3 separate regions of the Homo sapiens genome follow, and regions 1 and 3 are each linked to region 2. Evidence: promoter capture Hi-C in human tissues and cell types (Jung and others, 2019). All regions are on one chromosome and are shown on one strand. The core of a region is centred on a gene start or on the middle of the fragment in contact, and the rest is flanking DNA. Distances in the headings are between cores, read along the strand shown. Region 1 overlaps RPS6KA3 (ribosomal protein S6 kinase A3). Region 2 holds the start of MAP7D2 (MAP7 domain containing 2). Region 3 overlaps MAP7D2 (MAP7 domain containing 2).

Region 1 (4,486 bases), core at 389-2,888, 81 kb after region 2:
TTACTTGCATAGGAAGGCTAGAAGAAAGATGTAGGGTCAGGGAGCAAGCTTTAAGACTTTTGGAGTGGCATTTAGATGGGTAGGAAGGATAGGCCCTAGAAAACAAGAGTCCAAGCATGGAGTACCCAGTGTAAGCAAAGATGTGAAGGCATGAATGACAAACAGGAAGGAACCAAATGAGATTTACTACTGCGCCAAGGCGAAATGGGGAGGATCCAGATTCTTGAGAAGTTGGAATGCCAAGATGAATTTATATTTGACCCTGTGAGCAAAGCTCTTTTTCAGCAACCAAATATTTCCTGAGCAAAGTGTATGTGCAATGCACTAGGGATATACATACAAATAAGATAATCTTCAAGAAGCTCATGATCTAGTGGGAAGGACAGACAGGTAAATAAATGATTATAATACATTCTAAGTACTCTGAATGGTTATATGAAACATGAAAATGGAAAGAATAGGACAATCTTTGGAGGAGGGAGAAAGTTGAGTTGGTTTTATTTTCAGTTTAGGGTGACTGCAGATATTTAAAATATAGAAATAAGACCTCTGGGGAAAATAAACAAAGCAGCTAAAAAATGCCCTATTTTTTCCATTCTACCAGTTTTCTATCCCCAACTGGGAGATTTTCATACCACTGACTGAAAATGGGCAAATCAGAAATAGGAATCAATTGCTCTTGATGTCTACGCAGCTCTTTTAACTGACCTGTCCAGTTAGTATATCAAATTCAATAGCAATCTCTGATTTCATTACCTTGCCCGATCGCTACAACTCTGGTATTTTCCTTGTTATATCTGATATGCCCCCTTTTTTTTGAGATAGGATATCGCTGTCGCCCTGGCTGGAGTGCAGTGGTGTGACCTCGGCTCGCTGCAACCTCCCTCTCCAGGGTTCAAGTTATTCTTCTGCCTCAGCTTCCCGAGCAGCTGGGATTACAGGCTTGTGCTACCATACCTGGCTAATTTTTGTATTTGTGGTAGAGACGGGGTTTCACCATGTTGGCCAGGCTGGTCTCTAACTCCTGACCTCAGGTGATCCGCCTGCCTTGGCCTCCCCAAGTGCTGGGATTACAGGCACGGGCCACCACGCCCAGCCTGATATGCCCTTTGTACTTTTTATGTGAGTGAAGTTCATCACCAATACCTGCTGATATTTCTATTCTAGTCTAGCCTAAATCTGTCCTTTTCTCATTATTACCATACAATTTTGGATTAGTTCCTATCACCTTAAAGGTGGATTCCAAAGTCCTACCTCTTTCAATAAGTATACAAGGCTTATCACTTAAAAATACCTCGTCTGCTCAGTAAGCATCAAAAATATCCACTAATAAATGCACTGTATATCCCTCTTGTCTTATTTTACCACAATGAAAAGAACAATTATTTGGGAGTCAAGAACTACAGTTTAGTGGCTATACTAATAACTAGATGAACTCATAACTACCTTGGTCAAATCATTTCATTGCTCAGGGATTTCCTGTTTCCTCCTCTATAAAATGAAGGATTAGAACCAAGATGATTTTTTTGTGAGACAGTTTTCTCTTCAACATTTCCTTATATGTAACATTGATGAGACCTTGTTTAACTGAAAATGAGCAGTGAGAGTCCTTCTCTAAAGAATTCCTTCATTTTGTCTGAGGTAGGCCTGTGTCATAATTCTAATCTCGTTTCTTTTGCTTATGTAAAGACCTAGTGACAATTCTAAATCATCCTACCATGAGGAATTTTAATTAGTATATACTAATTCAGAAGAAGGCATGTTTTATATAGGCCAACTTCTAATCCCAACATAGAATTGGTTAATACTGACTCATGCTGGCAAAGCAACTAGATTCCTCTGAAATATTTTTTCTTCTAGAGTAGTTATTAGATTTAAGCCCTACTTGACTGAACCTGAGAATGAAGAAATGTTGTTTATGTTCCTAGGACTATGCATTAAGAAACCTTTTTAAGCAGTTTACAGAACCTTTTAGACAAACAGACCACTTTAATAGGACAGAAGTCCCCATTAACTTTATCTAATGTTATTGACTTGTATTTGACCCCATTTATCGTATTAACAGGAACTTTAAAATGGGAAGAGACTTCTGGTTAAACATGGATATTTTACTCTCTACATTCTTCCAAAACCCCATGGAAATGACAATAATGGAAAAACTGCATAAACTCACAAGGACAGGAAGCAATAGTAGAAGATGTGCAAGTGGTAACTAACAAAGCAGACCAGAGAAAGCTAAAAATCTAAGCCTAAGGAAAAGAAGCCAATGAAAAATAAGCAAATTCTTGTCATTGAAATCTTTCCAATCAGCTTTCTAGCACCCGACTCTTAAAGAAAAGATAGCAAAAGACCCCCAGGCATTTGGAGAAAGGCTCTAAACATGAAAAACATCAAAATAAACAGAAAAATGGAATAAAGGGAAACAGAGACAATGTGAGGAACAGAAGATAACTTAAACACCACACAACACAACTCAATCTTGTAATTTATGTCCACTGAGGGAGCAAAGATAATATGGCACCTCACCCTTTTTAAAGCTTCTTGTTCTTGTTTAAAAAGGGTGGTGGGGTGGAGGAAGGAACAAGTATCCGCAACAAATAAACTACAAGGAAAAGATAAGAAATGAAGAAAGAGTTCATAGATGAAAAGACTTAAAAACATTATCAACCAATTGCAAAGTTGAGACCTTATATGTATGGATCCTAATTTAAACAGACTGCATAAAGAAACATAAATTTTAATAGTAGGGACAACTAGCAATTTGAACAAAGACTGGATATCTTTATGCTCATTTTTAAGGTATGATAATACAGTTGAATTATCTCTTTTAGGAGTCTATCTTTTTTTTGAGATGGAGTCTTGCCCCGTCGCCCAGGCTGGAGTGCACTGATGTAATCTCGACTCACTGCAACCTCCGCCTCCTGGGTTCAAACGATTCTCCTGTCTCAGGCTCCTGAGTAGCTGAGATTACAGGTGCCCGCCACCACACCCAGCTAATTTTTGTATTTTTAGTAGAGACGGGGTTTCACCATGTTGGCCAGGCTGGTCTCAAACTCCTGACCTCATGATCCACCCGCCTCGGCCTCCCAAAGTGCTGGGATTACAGGCGTGAGCCACCGTACCCAGCCAGGAGTCTATCTTTTAGAGATATATACTAAAATATTTATGAAAGAAATTCTATAGTGTCTGGGATTTCATTCAAAATATCAAGAGAAGAAGAAGGAGAACACTGATGAAAAAAGGTTGGCCATGAGTTGATAAATGTTGAAGCAGGGAGAAGGGTACAGGGGGTTCACTATATTCTTCTGTCTCTTTCTTAAATGTTTGACACTTTCCATAATTGAAAAATGTTTTAATGAAATAATCAGAGAACAAGAAAATCTAGGAAATGAAAAGCGATGGCAGAAACAAAAAGGTCAATAGAAGAGTTGGAAGATGGTTGAAGAAATTTCACAGAAAATAGAAAAAATGGAAAATAAAAGATGGAAAAATAAAGAAAATTAAGGAACAATTCAGGAGGTTTAACTAACATATTCCAAAGAGCAGCACTTACAAATGTAGAATAAATGACAAAAACTTTCCCAAGACTGAAGAAAGGAGTTTTTAGGTTGAAAGAGACCACACCTCATATATCATATGATATAGTTTTAGAAACCCACACTCAAGAATACCACTATATAAATTTCAGAACACCAGGAATAAAGAGTAGATTCTAAAGACTCCCAAAGAGGAAAAGCAGCTTACACACAAAGGACTGGGAGTGAGACCAGCAATTAACTTCATCACTGTAACACAGGAAACTAGAAGACAATGGAAGCAATACCTTCAAATATCTGGTAGAAAATTCTTTCTGACCTAGAATTTTATACTCAGCCAAATTATAAACTAAGTGACAGGCGGTAGAATAAAGCCATTTCCAGACATGGAGGGTCACAAAAAATTTAGTATCCATTTACTCATTCTGAGGTAGCTATGAGAAGATGAGTTCCATCAAAACTAAAAAGTAAACTGAGAAAAAGGTAGGCACAGAATTTATGAAAAGAGACTGAATACAGAAAAGAAGTGAAGGAAATGTGACTGTAGTATACTATTTCGTTCAGCTAGGAACAATTCTTATAAAGCTGTAACAATGAAAACATTATTGGGAAGATGTGAAAAGGGAAACTGTGAGTGGGTGGCAGCATGAGAGAACTGAATCTTAGTCTTCCATGTTAGAAAGGCAATAGATTATGTCTCCAAATGAAAACAAACAATTGCAATATAAAAGTGTTGAATATAAATGTAAATGGCAGCAGCTAAAGAGATGAAAGTCATTGTCTCTGGGGTTCAAGAATTAGGATAGGCAGAAGAGTGGGCAAAGCATAGCTATGTTATATGATAAGACTCTACAGATATTCTTTTGATAAACATAAAAATTTAAGAACACATTCACAATTATTCAGCAGTTTAAAATTCCAATAAGTCAAATATTTTCACTTTTCTATCA
Region 2 (4,472 bases), core at 280-2,779:
AAATAAAAATGCAAACTGAAACAACCTCTCCTTTTCAGTGTTTTATTATACAAGGTCGCCTCTGCCACGGAGGGTCGTTCTGGTGGGTAGTTTCCAGGTTCTTCCCTAGCAGATGCAGCTTGAGTGTTTCAAGCAAAAAGGATAAAAACAAAAGCACACATTTCAAAGGTAGTTATAACGTTATCCTGTGACAGTTAATGAATTCTGCCTTTAAAATAGCATAATGAAAAATACAAACTGGAAATGATTTAAGCTATCTCCTCCTCCTAAGAATGATGCAACTGAAGGCCCAGTCAGAAAATACTACCTCGCCCCCTCAACCCCAGTGAAAAAGCGTGTTTTAAGAAGATTTCTCTTGATTTCTTTCCTTTTCTTGGCCCATCGTATATAAAATACTCCCATCTTCACTATGTGATAATTCATCGAATTATAGTTTTGTGTGGTTTTTTAAATGCATATTAGACTGCAATAAAAAATGTTTTAAAAATAGCCTGCCTTATTAACTAAAAATAAAAAAGTTGTTGTCAGGAAAAACAGCATGAAATCGGTTTCCATGCTGCTTACACCCCCGCACTACCTGCAACCACTTTACAGAACGTTAGCATCAGACCTGCTTATCTAAAATCCTGCCAAATGTCCTCACAGTCTCCTCCGCTGCCTCGCTGGCTTCTGGGCAGCCAGGGACCAGCCCTCCATGGCTCCCAGCATCGGCAGCCTCGAGGGCTGAGAGCCTTGTTTGCCCCGCTGCCTCGATTGAGGGCCGCGGCCCGGCCACCTGAGCAGCGTTCCCAAGACAGGGAGCGCATCCGGGCGGGAGGAGCACCCGGTCCGGGGCAGACGCCTGGCCGCCCGGGCGAATCTGCCTCTGCCAATGGGTGACACGCCGATTTTGCCCCCTGGAAACGCCAAGAGGCGCGAAGCTGGGCCACCTTCGCCGCGGGCTGCAGCGGCGCTCGCGCGCGTTTCCCAGAACGCAGAGAGAGCGCGCGCGGAGGCCGGGGCAACCCCAGAACCCCGCTCGGTTTATCCTAACGACCCCCATGCCGGCTGCTCCTCGAGGACGGGGACTGGACCCGCAGCACCCCCTCAGGCACCTCCATCCCAAACACACCTGCCGCCCACCCTAAGCCACCCCCCATGTGTACCCACTCACCCAGGTCGCCCCAAGAAAGAACCCCGCCACTCGCACAGAGAGGGGTGCGGCCCTTGGATGCACGTCCGGACGATCCTGGGCCAGGGAAAGGGCGTTTATCTCAGCTCTGCGCCGTGCCCCTTCCCCCCACGCTCGAGGACCTTTGCCCTGGGCCGCCGGGCCCGCCCCCCCACAGGAACCCGAAGCCCTCGGGCGCCCGCCACACTCTGGGGATAATACCTTGAGGCCGGTAGTTGGGCTGAGAGGTCCGCACCGCGCCCGGTTCTGCGATCTTCCCTGGGAGAGAGGTTCCCCGCGCAGTCCCCTCAGGCCGGGATCCCGTCCCGGAGCCGCCGCCGCCGCGCTCCATCGGGATGCGCCGGCCGCACAGGCGCACTGCCAAGCCCGCCGCGCCGCACCGAACCCGCGCGCGTCCGCATGCGCACGCGTCCTCACGCAGCACGCGCGCAGGGCGTGCACGTGCGATAAGCGCACCGGTTACCACGCACAGCGCACGCAAGGCGTGCACGTGCGATAGGCGCACCGCTTCCACGCACAGCGCACGCAGGGCGTGCACGTGCGATAGGCGCACCGGTTCTCACGCGGCGCGCGCTTGTAGCGTGTGCATGCAATGTGCACAACAGTCCTCACACAGCGCGTACGGGCGTGCACGCGTCCTTACACGCTGCTGTACACAGTGCACACACAGAAGGCGTGCGTACGCACACAGTTCTTCATACGATGCTTACATGCAACATGCACACACAACGTGCACACCCAGCGTAAATGCATCTTCTCACAGTAGCAGATACACACTCAAAGCGTGTGTAGATGTAGGGTGCAGTTTCTCAGACACCGTGCACACACATCCTCACTCAATGTGTGAACACAGAGCACATAACGCGCACACACGTGCTCACTCAGCACGCACACGCTTACACTCACTGGGTGTCTGCATGCAAACTCAGCAATGCAGCCTTGGGAACAATTTCTGGCTAGGCCCCCAGGTGGGTGCCAGTTGGGCCAGTGACATCTGTGCAGACGCCAGAGGACCCGCCCTCCATGCATAGTTAGGTTCCAGTTTTCGAGGCGCACGGGTAATCAGTGTTTAGTGACGCCCCACCCTCAGCGTGCGGTCACCCAGAGAGGGACAGCAGCAAGCTATTGGGGTCGATCTTCAACTAAGAGGCAGCGGCACGCGCCGTAGGCCGACCTAGGCCTTTCAACGACACCCTACTCCGCAGCCAATTTGGTTCCTCTTCTCCTGAGGCGTAAATAATGCTGACTGAAACCTCCGCGATGCCGGGTGTGGTGGCTCCCGCCTGTAATCCCAACACTTCGGGAGGCTGACGCGGGCGGATTGATTGAGCTAAGGAGTTCGAGACCCCCGTCTCTACAAAAAAATTTTAAAAATTAGCTGGGCATGGCGACTCATCTGTGGTCCCAGCTACTTGGGAGGCTGAGGCGGGAAGATCGCTTGAGCCCGGGAGGTCGAGACTGCAGTGATCACGCCACTGCACTCCAGCCTGGGCGACAGAGACCTTGTCTCAAAAGCAAAATAAAACAAAAAACCTCTGAGGAGGATCTCTCCGAGAAGACACACAAGAAACTGCTAAACGGGTTGCCTCCTAAGTAGGCACTTTTACCACTGCCATGCACATTTATTATCTTTTCAAAAACATTGAAAAAGACATCTTGGCAGGGCCGGCTCAAGCCTTTTGTTTACCCAGGCCTGCCAAGTGATAACCCGTTCCCATGGAGCCCCAGGCTGCATGTTTTTTCTCGTTGGAAGGTGACCAGCCTGAAAGTTTTATTACCACTCCTGGGGGGAGATATACACGATTAAAAATGAAGCTGAATAATGGGTACAGGTTTTCTTTTTTGGATGAAAATATTCTAGGATTATGATGAGTGCACAACTAAGTATACTAAAAACTATTGAATTGTACATTTTAAGCGGGTGAATTTTATGGTCCCTTAATTATGTCTCATTTTTTTTTTTTTAATGTGAAGCTGAAACTCTCAGGAATGGGCACCTGTACTCTTGGCCAAAGCTGGGAAAGTCCCTTTGTGGCACAAAAAATGTTTGTGATGAACGTGTTCCTGACACGCCCAAAGGTGTGCCGGGAGTAGGGTTCAAGTGTGGTGAGAAAGCCAGGAAGTTTAAACATAAATGAGTAGGAAAGTGAGCAGGTGGGGGCTGGTACCCTGAGCTGTAATGAAAACTCGAACACATTGAGATTAAGCCAAATTAAGAGCGTGGGAGCTGTCACTTTCTCCTCCCTTATCTTAGGGACCTTTGGTGAGTTCAATTCATCCAACTCTTGAGCTCATGGACATGTGTGTGTAGCATCCCTCTCTACTTTTATTCTATTTTTGGGGTCCTTTTACTTTCCATTCCTCTCCCTAATTATAAACACCTCCTCTGATATCTTTGCAGCTGCAATTTTGAAATACTGTTTTGAAGATACGCATGTATTTTAATTGTATATAAATGACACTGCATAAAAGCTATCATTCTATTTGTTTTTCCTCTCTTGGCATTGTTCTCAATCTACACAAAATGATTAGCCATTCTATCTGGTTTACCCTTCTGTAAATTCCCTGTTCAATCCTTGCCCACCTTTCCACTGGGCTACTCTGGTTGATTTCCAGGAGTTTCTTGTATTCTAGATAATTTCTGGTTTAAATGTTGCAAATATTTTATCCTAGCCAACTAAGCTTTTTAAGATTGGTAAAATTTTCCTTAATTTTTATGACAAAATCCTATTAACATGTTTACTCCATTTACAATATTGCCCTATTTTTTATCAACTGTTTTTGAAAGTTACATTACAAATACTTCCATGTGTATTTCCTAAGATTATGAATGTTCTGTTACACATACTAGAGTTGACTACCAACTTAAGTTTCACATGGATACAGTAATTTTCTCTCCATTGGCTGTTCCTCCACCTTAGAGGTAGTTTTCCTCTTGCAAAATGCACTGTGGTGAGGCACCTTAAGGCTATGCAGGTACTTACTCTTCGTCAAAAATTCTCTCTAGATTTAGCATCCATTGATGGTTCTTGCTTGATCTGATCTCATAATGATTACGAAGTGATAAAATCCATAAATTTTTCACCTTATGGTTTGCATTTTAAGAAGTCTTAATACGAACTTCCCTAGTCCCAAGATACTCCCCATTGCCCTCATGCTTATAGTAAAAAACGTAAAAAAAAAAAAAAAAAAAAAAAAAAGTAAAAAATGCTTTACTCTTAAGCAATTTTTCTGTATAGGGTGAGGTAAAGAGCCAAATCCACTTTTCTCTCCGAAGTGTAGTTTGGTCAGCACTACCTGC
Region 3 (4,249 bases), core at 1,507-4,006, 110 kb before region 2:
TAGACATTAAAAAACAAACAAGCAAACAAAAAAAACTGGTCTGGGTTTCAACTTACCTGAAAATAAGGGTCAACATTCCCATTATAACTTTATTTAAATGCCAAATTGCTATGTGCAATGTTATCATAGATTATGGTAAGGTTAACTGTATCTTAGCTAGAAAGCCCTCACACCAGTGGTATGAAAGTACAGGAACTTGGCTGGGCGTCGTGGCTCATGCCTATAATTCCAGAACTTTGGGAGGCTGAGGCAGGAGGATTGATCACTTGAGCCTAGGAGACCAGCTTCAGCAACATGGTGAGACCTTGTCTCTCCAAAAAAAAAAAAAAAGGAAAGAACAGCAACTTTTTTTTTACTATACTCAGAAGTCCATTGTGTTCTAGTGACAGTCATCACTTAAGAAGCTTTATGCAGTTGACTCCACTTGGCACTGGCAACAAAGGAATTTTTAATGAGTTTGACAGGGAAAGGACACCCACACAGGATTTTTTGGTTTTCTTCTACACAGGTTTTTAAAAGCCTGGTTTGGTTTCAGCACATTGAGCTTACAGAAAAAATAAAACGCTAGCAAGTCATCAGACTCTTCAATGAAAATGTATTTCACATTAAACACAAGGTACATATCATGCAAATGAGGCATCACCATGGTCACAATGGTGCTGTGAGGTACAACAAATCACAAGAAAACAGACATTTAGCAAAATAAGGTTCCAGGAAAGATGAGAGGCATTTTCTGAAAGCCAGACCATGCTATGGTTTCTGTGTGCCTGTCATAAAGGGACTTGGCCAGTATTTGCCGAGATGGACAGCACCGCATTATGTGGAGGCATGTACTTTATTGAGTAGAGACACATACACAGACATATAATTTCTGTAACTAATACATTCTTAAATGTAGCTGGCTGTAAAAGCACATGAACAAGATTACTACTGAGACTTCTTTGTATCTCCTGGTTGCAAACCTCTCTCAGAATTATGAATCTTTCCAAACCCTTAATTATACAAGTCAAAACAAAAAGTTTCAAAGAAGAAAAGGTCATTTTAATTTGAAAGCCACATTTCGCCACAAGAAACAAAATTAAGAAAACACACCATTATATGGCATAAAATGTGTGGAGTATACATTCTAGTGTCATTTTTCCCATTCAGATTTTTTCTTGAAGTCCATTAAAGTGACATACTGGGTCCAATGTGGGCCCCCTATTGTTTCAGAATGCTATGGTTTTTGTTTGCGCCTGGTTTTATTAAAGCTGGGCAAACACAGGAGCAAACAAAGAAAACTCCCAAGATCCAATAGAAAAAAAATTAGCAAGAACATTGAAAACCAACCACCTGCACGCGAGACATAGGATTCATTCAGCTGGAAAGCCACTCCATGGTCTGGAGTGACTACAGCATGAAGATTTTAAGGTGTGACACGAAAGAGTCCTTGCTAGATTCAGTTGCCCATGTATACACGAATATGCATAAGAGAACAGAAATCATTACTGACTGTTTTGACTTCCTTCCTCAACCAAACTTACTACTTTAACCCCAGAAGAATAATGTGGGGCAATGCATTTCTGCAGGTGGCAAAGCTTAACAACAATTTTTTAAAGGCTTCTTGATACTGCTTTCCAACAGAGAAACTCTGGAGATGGGGAACCTCCTGAATTTCTTCTCTGTCTCAAAAAAGACAGGGAGATATACAGTGCAAGTTGAGTATATGTTGAACTAGAGTTTGGGTAAATGTCTAGAATATTTTACAGGAAAAGACATCTAAATGTTTATGTGCTCCAACTTTGGGAATAAGAATGGTTATAAAGCGAATTGCCGAGCCAGTCACTCAGGTTATTCAGAGGGTCACTATGATAATAGAGAAGTTCAGGAAGTGCTTTATCAGTAGCTGAAGCTCATAAACAGAACTGTAAAAGGAAACTTTGCTAAAGCCCAGCAAGGTGAAAGTTTCAAGGTTTCTACCAAGAGTGGCCAGTGTTTGACATACTACCTAGGAATACAGTTACATTCCGAGCTAATAATTTGGGATCCAGCGGTAAGGGTGACAGAAGCTTCTTCAAGCAGCTAGTAGCTCGGATTTGACTATCAGCAGCTTTACGGGTTCTCCAAACACCTGTGTCAATTCAGAAACAAAACCAGATGAGATCAAAGGGAAAACCAAGTATTGTGCAGTTTGTAGCACTATTCTCTCACTAAAACGATCACAACACACTGTGGCACTTTCTACCTTCTTGGCAATTATATTTTCCTCCTGGGCTTATACAGTATTTCTCAACAGAAGTGATAGAGTATTTTACATAGGACTATTCTTTTAGATGGGTCAAATTTTCCTTGTATGGAACTTTTCTAAAACCTGCAGATATTTAATGTCTCAAGCTTTGTCTTTCAAATGCCCCCAGCCACTCTGGCAACAAAAACCATCAACGTATGTCCAAACGTCTCCTGGTGGGGGTGGTACCACTTTTGGTAGAGAAGAATTTGAGAACTAGACCCAATCATAATTAAAAATATACAAGCAGTGTGAATAAAATAATTTGAGATTTTTCTTTTTGGACAGGGGTTTTGCATTTCTTTTAGAGATGTAAGAAATAAATTTGAGGACCTATGAATACTCTAATAAATTTTGTGGATTCTCTGTTCCTTACTGTATAGTGAGGTAAGTGAACTGAAGGGAAACTAATTTTAAAGTCAAAGTATGTTAAAAACACAAAAAACCTCTTAATAAATATTAAGCCACGTAACTGTCAGGGAAATAGAATGCTCAGGTGATTTAGTGTTTTAAGTGTCCAAGAAGGCAGCTGCTTTTCCAAACCAGTGATACAGTTTACTCTAAAAGTGACCCACCACACACCAAGAACCAAGAGAAATGGGCTCTCAAACTTGTCTTATAGGCAAGAGCTGAGGTCAGGTAGAAACAAGTATACAAAAAACACAGTGACCTCAGCTCTGTAGCCTCTCCCACCTGTTTCCTCATTTGAAAAATAAAAACACTGGACTGTTATTTTGGCCAGTGAATTTGTTATGGGAGTGAAGTATAAAAAATAAAGTGACTGAGAAAATGCCGAGAATATAAAAATGCTTTTAAGAATCTAAAATGGCCGGGCGCGGTGGCTCACGCCTGTAATCCTAGCACTTTGGGAAGCCAAGGCAGGCAGATTACCTGAGCTCAGGAGTTCGAGACCAGCTTGGGCAACACAGTGAAACCCTGTCTCTACTAAAATACAAAAAATTAGCCAGGCATGGCGGCGTGCACCTGTAGTCCCAGCTACTCGGGAGGCTGAGGCAGGAGAATGGCTTGAACCTGGGAGGTAGAAGTGGCTGTGAGTGGAGATCATGCCACTGCACTCCAGCCTGGGTGACAGAGTGAGATTCCATCTCAAAAAAAAAAAAAAAAAAAAAAAAAGAATCTAAAATGGATAAATGGATGCAAGGCATGGTAGCTCATGGCTGTAATCCCAGTAAGTACTTGGGAGGCCAAGGAGAGAGGATCACTTGAGGCCAGGGGTTCAAGACCAGCCGGGCAACATAGCAAGACCCAACCTCTACAAAAACTAAAAAAAATTAGCTGGGCCTGGTGGCATGTGCCTATGATCCAACTACTCAGGAGGCTGAGGCAAGGGGATCTCCTGAGCCCAGGAGTTTGAAGTCTCAGTGAGCTGTGATTGCGCCACTGCACACCAGCCTGGACAACAGAGTGAGATCACTTCTCTTGAAAACAAAAACAGAATCTGAAGTGGGAGGAGCAATTGGAATTATTAAATTATTAAAGGATTTGGTGACAGACTCTAATTATGTTTTCCTTATTCAAAAACAAGCCCCAAACTGAAGTAAATAAAATGTGAGGTATATGTAACTAAGTATACCTTACTACAGAGTGTATATAACTCATAGACATTCTTGCTCAAATGAGAATAGCTTCTGGAAGCACTTTGGCAAAAATAAAAAAAGGCCAAAGGTGGGGAAAAAACCTTCAAGACACAAAAACTGCAGTTCTCTCTCCCTCAGGTATGATCCAAGAATAGCTGTCTGCTTTGGAAGAATCCAGAATGGGTCAAGAGAATAGCAAATCCTGTGGCCCTGTATATGAATGATTCTAGATAGAATGTGGGATGTCACTGAGCAAAACTAGAGGTGGGGAAATTCATCTTATTCATATCACCTTGCAACACTACTAGAGTATTCTTTCCTTGCCCCCTAAAAAAGCTACTCAGGCTGGACTGGTAGTCAAACCTTTAGCCAGTGTTCTCAACTT

Evidence for each region. Contacts are between HindIII fragments. The study calls those that stand out against the background at their distance.
Region 1: a fragment that was not itself captured here is called in contact with the fragment with the promoter of MAP7D2 in region 2 in 2 of the 25 tissues and cell types used here (IMR-90 fibroblasts and small bowel).
Region 3: a contact is called between a fragment that was not itself captured here and the fragment with the promoter of MAP7D2 in region 2, in 2 of the 25 tissues and cell types used here (bladder and lymphoblastoid cells).

Annotation. Positions count from the first base shown.
Region 1 is chrX:20,196,042-20,200,527 of GRCh38, forward strand. All of the region lies in intron 4 of RPS6KA3 (ribosomal protein S6 kinase A3), which reads right to left. Among named protein-coding and RNA genes, the nearest start is that of EIF1AX, 56 kb to the left of the region's middle. The HindIII fragment of the contact is 6,331 bases long and covers 1-4,486 here.
Region 2 is chrX:20,115,378-20,119,849 of GRCh38, forward strand. MAP7D2 (MAP7 domain containing 2) reads right to left here and starts at 1,530. Exons shown (of 17, transcript NM_001168465.2): 1 at 1,373-1,530. The coding sequence starts at 1,502. The HindIII fragment of the contact is 9,946 bases long and covers 1-4,342 here.
Region 3 is chrX:20,006,289-20,010,537 of GRCh38, forward strand. MAP7D2 (MAP7 domain containing 2) reads right to left here. Exons shown (of 17, transcript NM_001168465.2): 17 at 425-2,110. Among named protein-coding and RNA genes, the nearest start is that of MIR23C, 8.8 kb to the right of the region's middle. The HindIII fragment of the contact is 5,928 bases long and covers 1-4,249 here.